2 separate regions of the Homo sapiens genome follow, and region 2 is linked to region 1. Evidence: promoter capture Hi-C in human tissues and cell types (Jung and others, 2019). All regions are on one chromosome and are shown on one strand. Each heading gives the region's core, a stretch centred on a gene start or on the middle of the fragment in contact. The rest is flanking DNA. Distances are from core to core; before and after follow the strand shown.

The links. Contacts are between HindIII fragments. The study calls those that stand out against the background at their distance.
Region 2: the fragment with the promoter of TIMM13 here is called in contact with the fragment with the promoter of ZNF77 in region 1 in 3 of the 25 tissues and cell types used here (dorsolateral prefrontal cortex, psoas muscle and spleen).

What each region holds. Positions count from the first base shown.
Region 1 is chr19:2,941,046-2,947,388 of GRCh38, forward strand. ZNF77 (zinc finger protein 77) reads right to left here and starts at 3,926. Exons shown (of 4, transcript NM_021217.3): 1 at 3,793-3,926. The coding sequence starts at 3,795. RefSeq lists silencers at 3,622-3,701, 3,842-4,091 and an enhancer at 4,162-4,321. The HindIII fragment of the contact is 6,632 bases long and covers 1,127-6,343 here.
Region 2 is chr19:2,426,336-2,432,209 of GRCh38, forward strand. It overlaps TIMM13 (translocase of inner mitochondrial membrane 13), which reads right to left and starts at 1,251. Exons shown (of 3, transcript NM_012458.4): 1 at 1,079-1,251; 2 at 921-989; 3 at 1-711. The coding sequence starts at 1,198. The coding sequence ends at 613. LMNB2 (lamin B2) reads right to left here. Exons shown (of 12, transcript NM_032737.4): 10 at 5,448-5,567; 11 at 5,213-5,323; 12 at 1,831-4,617. The coding sequence ends at 4,576. RefSeq lists enhancers at 1-741, 742-1,487, 1,572-1,721 and a silencer at 932-1,021. The HindIII fragment of the contact is 21,330 bases long and covers 1-5,874 here.

The sequences.
Region 1 (6,343 bases), core at 2,676-5,175:
ACACCTGGAGTCCCAGCTACTCAGGAGGCTGAGGTGGGAGGATCATTTGAGCCCAGGAGGTTGAGGCTGTAGTGAGCCACGATGTCACCACTGCACTCCAGCGTGGGTGACAGAGAGACGCCCTACCTCAAAAAAAAAAAAAAAAAAAAAGGCTGGGTGAGGTGGCTCACACCTGTAATCTCAGCACTTTGGGAGGCCAAGGCGGGAGGATCACTTGAGGTCAGGAGTTCATGAGCAGCCTGGCCAACATGGTGAAACCGCACCGCTACTAAAAATACAAAAATTAGCCAGGTGTGGTGGTGCATGCCTGTAATCCCAGCTACTTGGGAGGCTGAGGCAGGAAAATCACTTAAACCCAGAGGCAGAGGTTGCAGTGAGCTGAGATCAAGCCACTGCACTCTAGCCTGGGTGACAGAGTGAGACTGTCTCAAAAAAAAAATAAAAATAAGTAAGAACACAGCCAAATCACCACTTTCAGCCCGTGTTAAAGGACAAAGGGGTGAGTGGTGGATTCTAGAAGATCTAGAAGTTTTTCTGTCCCACAAAGGGTCCCATGCAGAAAACAGGTATCAGTTAATGATTAGGGTCTCATGCAGAAAACAGGTATCAGTTAATGATTATCCTCATGATAAATTGTTCGTCAGTCCCCTAATCGGAATTGCCGCTTCTCTGTACTGTGGGTCGTATATTACAGAATGCGCATCTGTCTGATGCGCAGATACTAACAGGAGACGGAGCAGGGTCCCCCACTGTCACAAACTCTGCACCCTGCCTAAGTCAGTGCTAGTTTCATGAATGTTTTCAATCCACACCTTCGCCCACCTCACAATATGGCATGGGGCTGTGTGTGCGCCTTTCCCCTCATCCTAATGGAAGATGCAACGTCTTCCGAGTTTGAGAGTTTTCCACAGCAGCCTTCTCGGGCTAAGCCATGGTATAACACCAGGCAGTGGCAGAAGGCAAAGAACACATCCAAGACAATGACTGCCCTCACTAAGGACAAGAAAAAAAAGGCAAAAAGCATTTATTCTTTTTTTTTTTTTTGAGACAGGGTCTTGCTCCGTCTCCCAGGCTGGAGTGCAGTGAAACAATCTCAGCTCGCTGCAACCTCCGCCTCCCCGGTTCAAGCGATTCTCCTGCCTCAGACTCCCAAGTAGCTGGGATTGCAGGCACTTGCCATCACACCTGGCTAATTTTGATATTTTTAGTAGAGACGGGGTTTCCCCATGTCAATCAGGGTGGTCTTGAATTCCTGACCTTGTGATCCGCCCACCTCAGCCACTCAAAGTGCTAGGATTACAGGTGTGAGCCACCGCGCCCGGCTCTTTTTTTTTTTTTTTTTTTTTCCAGACAGGGTCTAGCTCTGTTGCCCAGGCTGGAGTGGAGTGGTACAGCCTCAAACTCGTGGGCTCAAGCGATTCTCCCCCCTCAGCCTCTCAAGTGGCTGGGACCACAGGTGCGCATCCCCATGCCCGGCCTCATTATTTTACATTTACTAAAACCTGGGGCTGAAATAGGAACAATACCAATGCTGAGCTGGACACAGACGAGGCTGTTCGCAGCTGTCAGGTGACAATGTTGAACTGACTTCAGCTCTGTGCTCCTGGAAACCAGCAAAGGTGAAACCCCGTCCTGCTGTGCTCTGGAATTGGGACAGCCAGGACCCTCCCTTCCCATACGACTTAGATAAGATTCACGCAGATGACAAGGCCAGATTCAGACCCTCCGAAATCCCATTCTTTGTCATCAGAAATGATTCACTAGGTTAGGTGTGCCCAGGCTGGAGTGCAGTGGTGTGATCATGGCTCACTGCAACCTCTGCCTCCCGAGTTCAAGCAATTCTCCCTGCCTCAGCCTTCCAAGTAGCTGGGATTACAGGCACACACTACCACGCCCGGCTAATTTTTGTATTTTTTAGTAGAGATGGGATTTCACCATGTTGGCCAGGCTGGTCTTGAACTCCTGACCTCAGGTGATCCACCTGCCTCAGCCTCCCAAAGTGCTGGGAGTACAGGCATGAGCCACCGCGCCAGGCCTAGCCAACTCTTCAGATGCCTGCATACTTGACGGTCACAGAGCTCTCCCCCTGCAGCTGTCTCCCTGTGGCTACAGCATTAGTCCCGCAGCTCAATCATCAACTGTCCCCATGCCCCTGTTGCTTATACCCCCACCCCACTGCAATAGAACCTCAAGCCTCTGGCATTACTCTCCTGCCTCTAATCCAACTAACCCTTCTCCCTATTGCAACAGCCCCTTCTCCCCCTCCCCCAATACCTCGCAATAATCCTTTTTCATAAAAGTTTCCTTACTACGTTTGGGTTTACACAAGCTTGACCACATGTTCGCAGCCTCCCGTTTCTTCCCCAAACTTTACTCAGCCTTCTGTCCTCTCCGCAGGCCCCTGAACTTTGGCCCCCCCGAGTCTGAGCAAGCAGTAAGTGTGGAGTCCCCTGTCACCTCCCCTGAGCTAGCTGACCACGAGGAGGTACATTTACTGTCAACCTCCTTTCTGCTTGTCCCCTAAAACGTTCCTCCAAACCTTTTCTTGTGTATGAAAGTAAAGCCTTTTCCTGGTTGATTTTGAGACCTGGCAGGTTTCGGAGGCTGGGGCTTATCCCTATTTTTCTCTCTCCTTCTCTAGCCAGGATTTTTTTTTTTTTTTTTTTTTTTGGTTTTTGTTTTTGAGACGGAGTCTTTCTCTGTCGCCAGGCTGGAGTGCAGCGGCGCCATGTCGGCTCACTGCAAGCTCCACCTCCCAGGTTCACGCCATTCTCCTGTCTCAGCCTCCCTGGTAGCTGGGATTGCAGGCGCCCGCCACCACGCCGGGCTAATTTTTGTATTTTTAGTAGAGACGGGATTTCGCCATGTTGTCCAGGCTGGTCTGGAACTCCTGACCTCAGGTGATCCGCCCGCCTCGGCCTCCCAAAGTGCTGGGATTACAGGCGTGAGCCACCGCGCCCGGCCCAGGATTTTATTATTTGACAGGCTCCAGGACAGGGCACCACCTCCTCCTTGGCAGACCTTCCCAAACTGACCACCAAGCCCCTGACGGCTCCTGCCCTCTCCTCCCACTCTCCCCGATCCCCTGACTGCCTCTACTGTCCCCCAACACATCCCTCGAGCCCGACTCCCTTTACTGTCCCCCCAAACTTCCCTCAAGCCCCTGATCGCCTCTACTGCCCCCCTTAAAGTGCCCCTGAGCCCCTGACTGCTTCTGCTGTCCCCTCGAGCTGCCCCCAAACTCCCGACTGCAGCTACTGTCCCCCTAAACTGCCTTCGAGCCCCTGATCACCTGTCCCCCAAAACTGCCCCTTCAAACCCATGACCGCCTCTACGGCCCCCTCAAACTGTCCCCGAGTTCCTGACCGCTGCTATTGGCCCCCTAATCTGCCCTTGAGCCTGACTCCCTTCCACTGAACCCCCAAACTGCCGCCGAGCCCCTGACCGTGTCTGTTCCCGCAAACTGCCCCTGTGCCCCTTAAACCTCTACTGTCCACTTAAATTGCCTCAAGCCCCTGACCACCTCTGCTGTCCCCACAAGCTCTCCCCAAACTCCTGACCTGTACTGTCCCCAGAAACTACCCCTCGAGCCCCTGACCGCTTTTGCTGTCACCCCAGACTGCCCCCAGCCCTACCCCTCGGCCGCTGTGACCACGTCCCCGGGGCCCAGGCGCTCGTCGTGCGCCGCCCCGCGCGTCCCTCAGCTTTCTCCGGCTGCGAACTCGGGCGGAAGCCGGTTCCTGCCGCCCCACCTCGCCCTGGGCCCGGGCTCGGCTCCCGCCCGGCACTCACCATGTCCCGCCCGCTCCTGGGCTCTCCAGGGTTAGCGCCCCGCGGTCCAGCGACCGGCGCAGGTGAGCACGACAGGACACCTGAGCCGCTCGGGGTAGGCGGGGAAGCGCGCAAGGCAGAGGGGAACTCGGCTTACCGTCCTCGGGGTCTGATTGGACAGATCTCGGGAAGTGGAGACTCTGATTGGACAGTGCTGTCGACTCCGCACCCCTGATTGGAGAATTCTCCAGTCCGTCCCCCTAGCGCCCTTGATTGGGCAGGGCTCCGCTTCGGATTAACGTCTCTGATTGGACAGTTCCCTAGGCCCCGCCCCTGCCTGTCCTGATTGGATAATTCTCTCCTCAGTGACGGGCTCGTCGAGAACACGCGTGGCTGACCCTCTAGCCGGGCAGCCGCGGATCTGGGAGAACTCACTCCAGTCCAGGGAGGGCGCGGCGTCCTCCTCCCTGACTGCACGGCAACTCCAGACTCAGTTTCCCCTCGGAGCGGCCCCTCGTGCGGGGAGGAGAGGAAGGGCACGGAGTCCCATGGGGCGGAGTCCTGCGTGGGGGCGGGACCCGCGTGCGTGACGTCACCGTGCTGTCCCGCGTGGGCGCGGACGCCTGGGGTCCAGAGACCTGGAGATCTGGAGACCAGACGACGAGGCCCCAGGAGGCCGGACCCCACCAGGCGCTCCCTGTGTTCTTAAAACTCTCGGCCGGGCGCGGTGGTTCACGCCGGTAATCCCAGCACCGTGAGAGGCGGAGACCGGCGGATCATCAGAGGTCAGGAGTTCAAGTCCAGCCTGACCAAAATGGCGAAAACCACTTCTCTCCTAAAAATACAAAAATTAGCTGGGCACGGTGGCGGGCGCCTGTAATCCCAGCTACTCCGGAGGCTGAGGCAGGAGAATCGCTTGAACCCAGGAGGCGGAGATTGCAGTGAGCCAAGATCAGGACACTGCACTCCAGCCTGGGCAACAAGAGCGAAACTGAGTCTCAAAAAAAAAAAAAGCAGCCCTCCCACAAACAGAACCACGTAAGGTCATGAAGAGAGAGGTCTCACATTTATATGCTTAATAACGAAAAAGACTCTACAAAAACCACAGGCTTAAACAAAAAATACTTTTACAGGGACACTCAGACTGGTGTGACCCTTGTTACTGATCTTTGTAGACAAGGATAATTATTTCTGAAAAATGATGTAATCCTCATTTAAAATTTTTTTTTTCCTTTATAAACCTTTGTCCCAGTCTGGGCAACATGGCAAAACCCCATATATACAAAAAATACAAAAATTAGCTGGGAATAAAGGAGTGTGCGCCTATGGTCCCAACGACTTGATAGGCTGAAGCAGGAGGATCGCTCGAGCCCGTGGGGATTGAGGCTGCAGTGAGCTGTGATCTCACCATTGTACTCCAGCCTGGGCAACAGAGACCCCCGTCTCAAAAAAATGAAAACCAAAAACAACCTTTGTCTTCCTTTACCTCCCTGAATAAGCACATAGTTTGCTATGCCGCGCATATTCCCACTGCAATGAACTGTTACCACCGTTTTTAGACAGCCTGTTATTTAGGTCGACACAGTAAAAACATGAATTACGACAATTATGTTTGTATGTAAAATGGCAAGCGATATAGAGTTTATACTTCTACTCTGTCTCAAGCTGGAAAGTCTTTTCGGAGATGAGCAGTCGCGTTCCAGGCTTTAGGAATTGCGGCTCAACTGAATAAAAGTATTCAGAATTTTCACGTCGAGTTCAAATTTATTTAAACTTCTATGATTATTTTCTCAAATGAGTTAAAATAAGAATTCAATTACCATAGGAACAGTACAGCCTTTTACTTTAAGAAATTCTCTAGGGCCGGGCGCAGTGGCTCACGCCTATAATCCCAGCACTTTGGGAGGCTGAGGCAGGTGGATCACCTGAGGTCAAGAGTTCGAGACCAGCCTGGCCAACATGGCAAAACCCTTGTCTCTACTAAAAATATAAAAATTAGCCGGGCGTGGTGGCACATGCCTGTAATCCCAACTACTTGGGAGGCTGAGGCAGGAGAATCACTAGAGCCCGGGAGGCGGGGATTGCAGACCCAAGATCGCACCACTGCACTCCGCCTGGGTGACAGAGCGAGACTCCATCTCAAAACAAAAACAAACAAAAAAACGCCATTTGAACGACACGTTTTGTTTCCCCCCGCTTTATTATTTTTAAAAAGTACCATGGTGTACACATTGCATTACAATTGTTTTTGTGGCTCAATGAAAAAAATAAATCCTCCACCTCTCTTCATCTTAATAGGTGACTTCCTTACTCCTTACAGATGTAAGATGATGTAAGCTGATGTAACAAGGTCTCTCTAAATAGACAGTGGACTTGTTTCCAATCTTTTGCTACTCAAAGCTTGTCTTATGTTGCACCACCATGCCTGGCAGATTTTTGTATTTTTTGGTAGAGATGGGGTTTCACCATGCTGGCCAAGTTGGTCTGGAACTCCTGACCTCAAGTGATCCGCTTGCCTCAGCCTTCATCAATGGATATTAATGAAGCTTAGGATACTCACATTGTGTCAAAG
Region 2 (5,874 bases), core at 1-2,500, 520 kb before region 1:
GAAGCAGGGTCAAAGCAAGCCCTGACAAGGGGAAGGCTGTCCCCCTTAGCCTTTGGGGCAGGGGTGGCAGCAGCAACACATTCCTCGTGACTCAGCAGCCCGGTGGCACTAAGGGGAAAGATGGACTTCTCCCAACCCAGGGGAGGCTGAGACCCTCCGAGCTGGGGTTCCAGGGACACGCGTCACCTCTTCCCAGAGACCCCTCAGGAGGGAAATAAAGAGGTTTCTCTCCGTCCTCCACCAATTTATTTGCCCATCCGCAGGAGGTGACAGCTCCTGTGGTGTCTGACCACCCCCAACTCCGAAGTCCAGACAAGCTGTCCGCCCAGAATATGAGGCTGACTTGGGCACACTAGGGGAATACCCCAAAGGCCTGAAGGAGGTGCCACTGGGCTGCCAGCACTTCAGGAAGGCACAGGGCCCCACACCCCCGAGATCCAAGCTGCACTGGCTGGCAGGGGGCAGGGCGGGGGGTGGCGAGGACACAGTCCCGTGTGTCCCAGCACCGGTGCCACCCTCCTAAGCCCCGGGCAGGCAGTACGTACATGCGGACCCCGCCTCTCAAAGCACGTTTATGGAAATGAACAGGGTGGGGTGGCCCGCGCTCGCCGGTCACATGTTGGCTCGTTCCCGCTGCAGCCGCGAGTTGTAGGCGCGAGACACGGTGTTCCAGGCGTCCATGTAGCGGTCCATGCACATGGCGATGCACTTCTGCGGGAGCGGAGGGGCGCACGGCTCAGCTCGGGACTTCGCGGCCCCGGGGACCGCCCTGACCCCGGCTCCAGGACGCCCGGGCTGCAGACTACGCACGTGCAGTGACCACTCCGTCGCACCTCCCCGTTAGTCTGCGCACGCGCAGACACCTCCCCCCTCGAATCTAGGCCCTCGCGACCCTTGCCCCGAACCTCCGCGGGTCTCACCTGCTCGGAGTTGTCCAGGGAGCCCCCAGGTTTCCCTATACACTTCCGGAAACACTTGTCCGTCATCCTCTGTGGAGACACGCGAGGCTTTAGCCGCGACGTCGGCCCCCAGGGGTGGCCCTGTCGCCCCCAGCGCCCGTCCCCGGCCAGCCCCGCACCTGCAGCAGCTCCTGCGCGTTGGCCACGGCGATCTGCACTTTCACCTGCTCCATTATGAGCCCTGGGTCCAGCTTCCCGCTGCCGGAGCCCCCGAAATCGGAGCCGAAGCCGCCCTCCATGGCTCCGCAAAGTCAACCGGACCGAGGCCGCGTGCGCCGACTCGTAACTAACTGCGCCGGAAGCGGGCCGCCCGGGGCACCACGGGAAACGGAGTCCGCGCGGACGGGGACGGAGGACTACAACTCCCACACGACCGCGCGCGCCCGGGCCATTCAAGGTCGCGCGGGGGGCCCTCCGCTCATGCGGAGGCCTGGACCTGCCGTTACCTACACGAGCTACCCGTGGTTGCGACTCCGCGGGAAGAGGGAGGCCCTGACTTGGCCGGGGAGTAGGGGGGCTACTACGTGCGGCCGAGGCCGATCACTTTGTACTCACGCTCTGCCTCCAGCTCGTCCCGAAGGGCCTGCCGCGCATGCGCACGAGGCACCCGGCGCGTCTATACAGCGTGTTGCCGCCGGGGCGGAGCCCGGTCGCATCACGTGACGAAGAGTCAGCTTGTGCAACAGCGTCGGAGGCTCACTAGAAAAAAAAGGGCAGGGTCCCATGCATCGCCTGGGTCCTGTTTACACTAGCTACACTAGCCAGTGACCTTTTTCCTTGGGGGTGGAGGGATCTTTCTTAGACATCCGCTTCATTAGGGCAGAGGCCCCGGCTCGAGCTTCCCCTCAGGAATAAACTCAGAGGCAGAACCTAAAATCAAAATGTTTATTGGAGTGTTGTACAAAAAAGTTTCCAGTCATAAAATGTATATTACAAATCATTGGAAAAAAAAAAGAACACATTAGGCATGCATCTTCTTAAAAACCGAATCTCTGAAATGAAAGTCCATGCCAGCCCCAGCTGCAGCCCAGCTCCGTTTTTGCAGGTTGTGCTGTGACGCTCGCTGGACGCAGGGCTTGGAAGAGGCTGCAGGCGGCGACGCCCCAGGACTGAGGAGTCCCTCAGATCTTTAACAAAGAACTGCCGCGTGCAGGCTTCAGACCAACCCCAGCCAAAGCCGCTGGCATGAGGACAGGTGCATGATCGGATTCTGGGTCAGCCCGCAGGCCTCCCGGCTCCTGGGCTCAGCGGGGCAGGCTTCAGCGTTAACCTGGCGCTGTGCACCCCAGAACCCGCGTTGGTCCAGCAGGCGTGGGCCTCCCCCCAGGGCTGGGTGGCGTCTGATGCTTCGCAGGGAGGGCGCTAGGCTTCGAGTCACACGGCACGGGCTTACACAGAGGGATGGTTTCGCATCGTTCTAAGCGGCACACAGCTAAGCGTATTTGGGGACAAATGCAAATTGTTTCCCAGGCCATAAATAACTTTTAAAAATTTGATTTTCTTAGTGTTTCCAAAGACTCAATTCTCAATGAACCTCCAATTACCCACAGGCTGCCCAGTCCACGCTTCTCCCCACCCCCTTCAGCTAAGGGCACCCGCAGTCCTAGGACCACCCCCAGCTCCACCCAAGGCAAATGTAGGGTGGGGGGTTCTGTGGGCCTGGGGCGTGCTGTTTTCAGGACAGGACTGGGCAGCGTCTGGACATGAGGACCTGCGGGTTTTGGGGGGGACTTTGTCCCTGAGCCCAGCCTGCAAGGCTGTCGGCAAATCACAGACCAACTCCAGGATACAGCTTTGCTCCTCCAGAGCCAAAATACATAGGATGTGGCTGAGACCACTGCAGACTCCCCATAGGACAAGATCACCAAGACCCACCCCCAGAACCCTCGCTAGCACGAAGCCCAGCCAGTCGGGTCCGGGTGATTCCTGCTATGAAGGTGGGAAAGAGGACACAGTCTGTCGCCAGCATTCCCACTTCCAGCGGCTGGCAGAGGGTATCCCCGGGGCAGGCAAAGCTCCCTACCAGCCGCCTGACTGGGAGCACAGCGGCGTAGCCTCCAGGAGGAAATGCTTTGGTAAGATGCGCCCCCCTCTATCTACATGGGACCGGGACTTCTGAGAGCAAGGACAGCGAGCAGGGGCTACGTGGAGCAGCGGGTGTTTCTGCTTTGTCGGCCGCTGGCTCCTTCCCGGCCTGGGGCTGGGGCCCCCCATTCCTTCCTGCCACAGGCAGGTCCCCAGGGAGGCGGGATGCAGTCACAGGGGAGCGGTGCCGCCCCCGCCCTGCAGTGAACGCCATGGCCCGGAGACGGCGCGTGCCCATGGCTCAGTTTTGGTGTCTTTAAGACTTGAGCTGCACTTTCTGAAGGAGGCTCTGCCGTCGGAGGGTGCCCCAGCCCCACGCCACCCCGGGGAGGAGGGTCAGCCTGTCCTCAAGGCCCTGGCGTGAGCTCCTGACCTGTGTACTGACCAATGTAAAAAAATAAATATCCATTAAAAAAATAACTTCTGTGTATCTATGAGGGAGGGTGTAAACGGTGAGCTATTGCCGAAGGGGGGTGCCAGGCATTGGGAAGCTGGACTGAGGGGCTTGGGTGCGTCGTGATAGGAGTCAGGTGGCCTTGGCCTGTCTGAGAAACATGGTTTCAGCGAGAAAATCACAGATAAAAGCACAGTATGGATAGACGCATGTGTATATATAGGCACAGGGCAGACGGAGCTGGAACACGGGAGGGGCTCCACAGCGCTCTCCTCCAGAGGGTCAACATGGTGGCGTTCCCTGCAGACAGCTGTTCTGAAACTCACAGCTTCTGCCTCCAAGGCAACCAGATGTGTCCCCTCCACATCTCCCCTCCCTGCTTATTGTTGTGACAGGTCTTACGACGGGACTGTCCTCATTCTTCCTTCCCCAGGTCTTCCCCTCCCCTGCCCTGTTGGCCTTGCACAGTCAGGAACTGAACTGCGGGAAAACTCCCCCAAATAAAGTCAACGGTCCGAGAAACCCGGCCGGTGCGCTGCCAGAACGGGAATCTGGAAGCCCAGGCAGCGGAGTGAAAACCCGCCCTGGGGGCCACGCCATCCCCATGCTGGCCCACACCCGCTGCGTGGCTGCCTGAGGAGTTCCCGCTGTCCGAAGCTGGGCAGCCAGAATGCAGGCTTGGCCCCGGGCCCCACCAGGTCGACGCCTGGATTCTGAATTTGGTTTTGTAGAAAGCCTTAAAAAAACCCACCACCACTGAATTCCTACGCAGTTTCCGCGCTCCGTCCGCAGCAGGGCCGTCTCCTGTCCCCTCGCTAGCCTCGCCGGCCCTCCTCCCTCCAAGCCCAAGCATCTTCTAAACCTCCGGGTCCTGGCCCTGGGCTTCCAATTTGACCAAATGGTGAGATGAGGAGTGGGGTGGGATTGAAAAGTCTCCGGGGCAGCGGCGAAGTGGCAGCGAAGTGAGGCTGGAGGAGACCCGCCAGGAGGGAGGGCTGGGGGAGACCCACCCACACGTTCTGGCAGTTCGCTTAGAAATTCTCTAGAAATGTATCAAGAACTAAAGAAAGCCAATGATATAAAAATAGTTTTCAGTGGCTCTGGGTAAAGAAAGGTGTGTGGATGAGGAGTGTGGGTTCACATCACGTAGCAGCCTCTTGAGGTGGTCCTCGGGTCCCCCTGCAGGAAGGAAGGAAGGAAGGTCGGCCATGATCAGGGCCAGCCTGGAGGCAGCCGGCAGGTAGATGGCTGCCCCCACCTCCCCACCAGGGAGGGGCTGAGCAACAACAGTGTCTATTTCTAGAGCCTTCCATTCCACTTCCATGTCCCCATGAGCCCGCCTGTGAGCTACACATTCTGTTCTGGGTTCCAAAACAGTCACAGGAACTTGCGACGCACGCGTTTAATGCAGCTGTGGTTTCTGCACTCATCTTCTCCCCAGAAGCCAGTATTGAAGGGACCTGTGTCTTCGACTGAGGAAGCCGGTTGACCAGAGAGCATTTGGGGAGCTGTTCAACACCCACCTCTCAGGGGACCCCCTGGCCAGCTACCCTGAGGTCTGTGATGTCGCAAATTCACACGATGGGCACGACCCAGGAGGCAAGAACAGGTCTCTGCCGTGCTGGTAACAGCCAAGGCTGGCTTCACCCTGAGCCACGGCAGCCAGATGGAGCTCCCGTCGGGGATGCGGCCAGCACGCATGTGTATGTGTGTGCACGAGCTCACTCTGCCCCAGAGGCTGCCCCCCAGCCGCAAGTGGGCACAGGGGTCCTACCTGTTGGTGGAAAAGATCCTCCTCGCCAAACTCGGCTTCCTCCTCCTCTTCCTCCCCATTCTCATTCTCACGCATCACCGAGGACTTCTTCACAGTCCTCATGGCCACTTCCTGTGCGGGACAGGACACGGCGGCATGTCCCGGGATCGGGCCCAGAGCTGCTGTGGCGGCCCCGAGGGTGCCCAGACCCTGCCCAGGACTCCAGCCGAGCACCCCCCAAGCCACACACACCCACCTCGCCATCCGCGTTAACCAGGACGGTGCGGAAGCTCTCGCCCGTGCCCCAGCTGCTCTGGCCCTTCCACACCAGCGTCGAGGGGGGGCTGTGGGCCACCCCCGCACCAGCTGCCCACACCTGAGGACCCAATAACAATGGCCCCATCAGGGTCACCTCTGGTTCCAGGGACGTGGGCCAGCCAGTGGCCCCTACCACAAAGCCCCCTTCAATGCCCTGGGCGTTCAGTCCTTCCAGCCCGACGCAGGCTTATCCAGGGTGATGGTCCCCAGGATACACAAGAAGAGACCAGGGTTCACAGAGGCCAAGGGCTCTTGGCAAGCAGGGGCTGAACTGGGATCTGACACCCACCAGGCTCCATGGCCCATGCGCCTGACTGTTAACACTTCACGGGGACGCCTGCCAGCCCCAGCAGCCTGGACTCAGA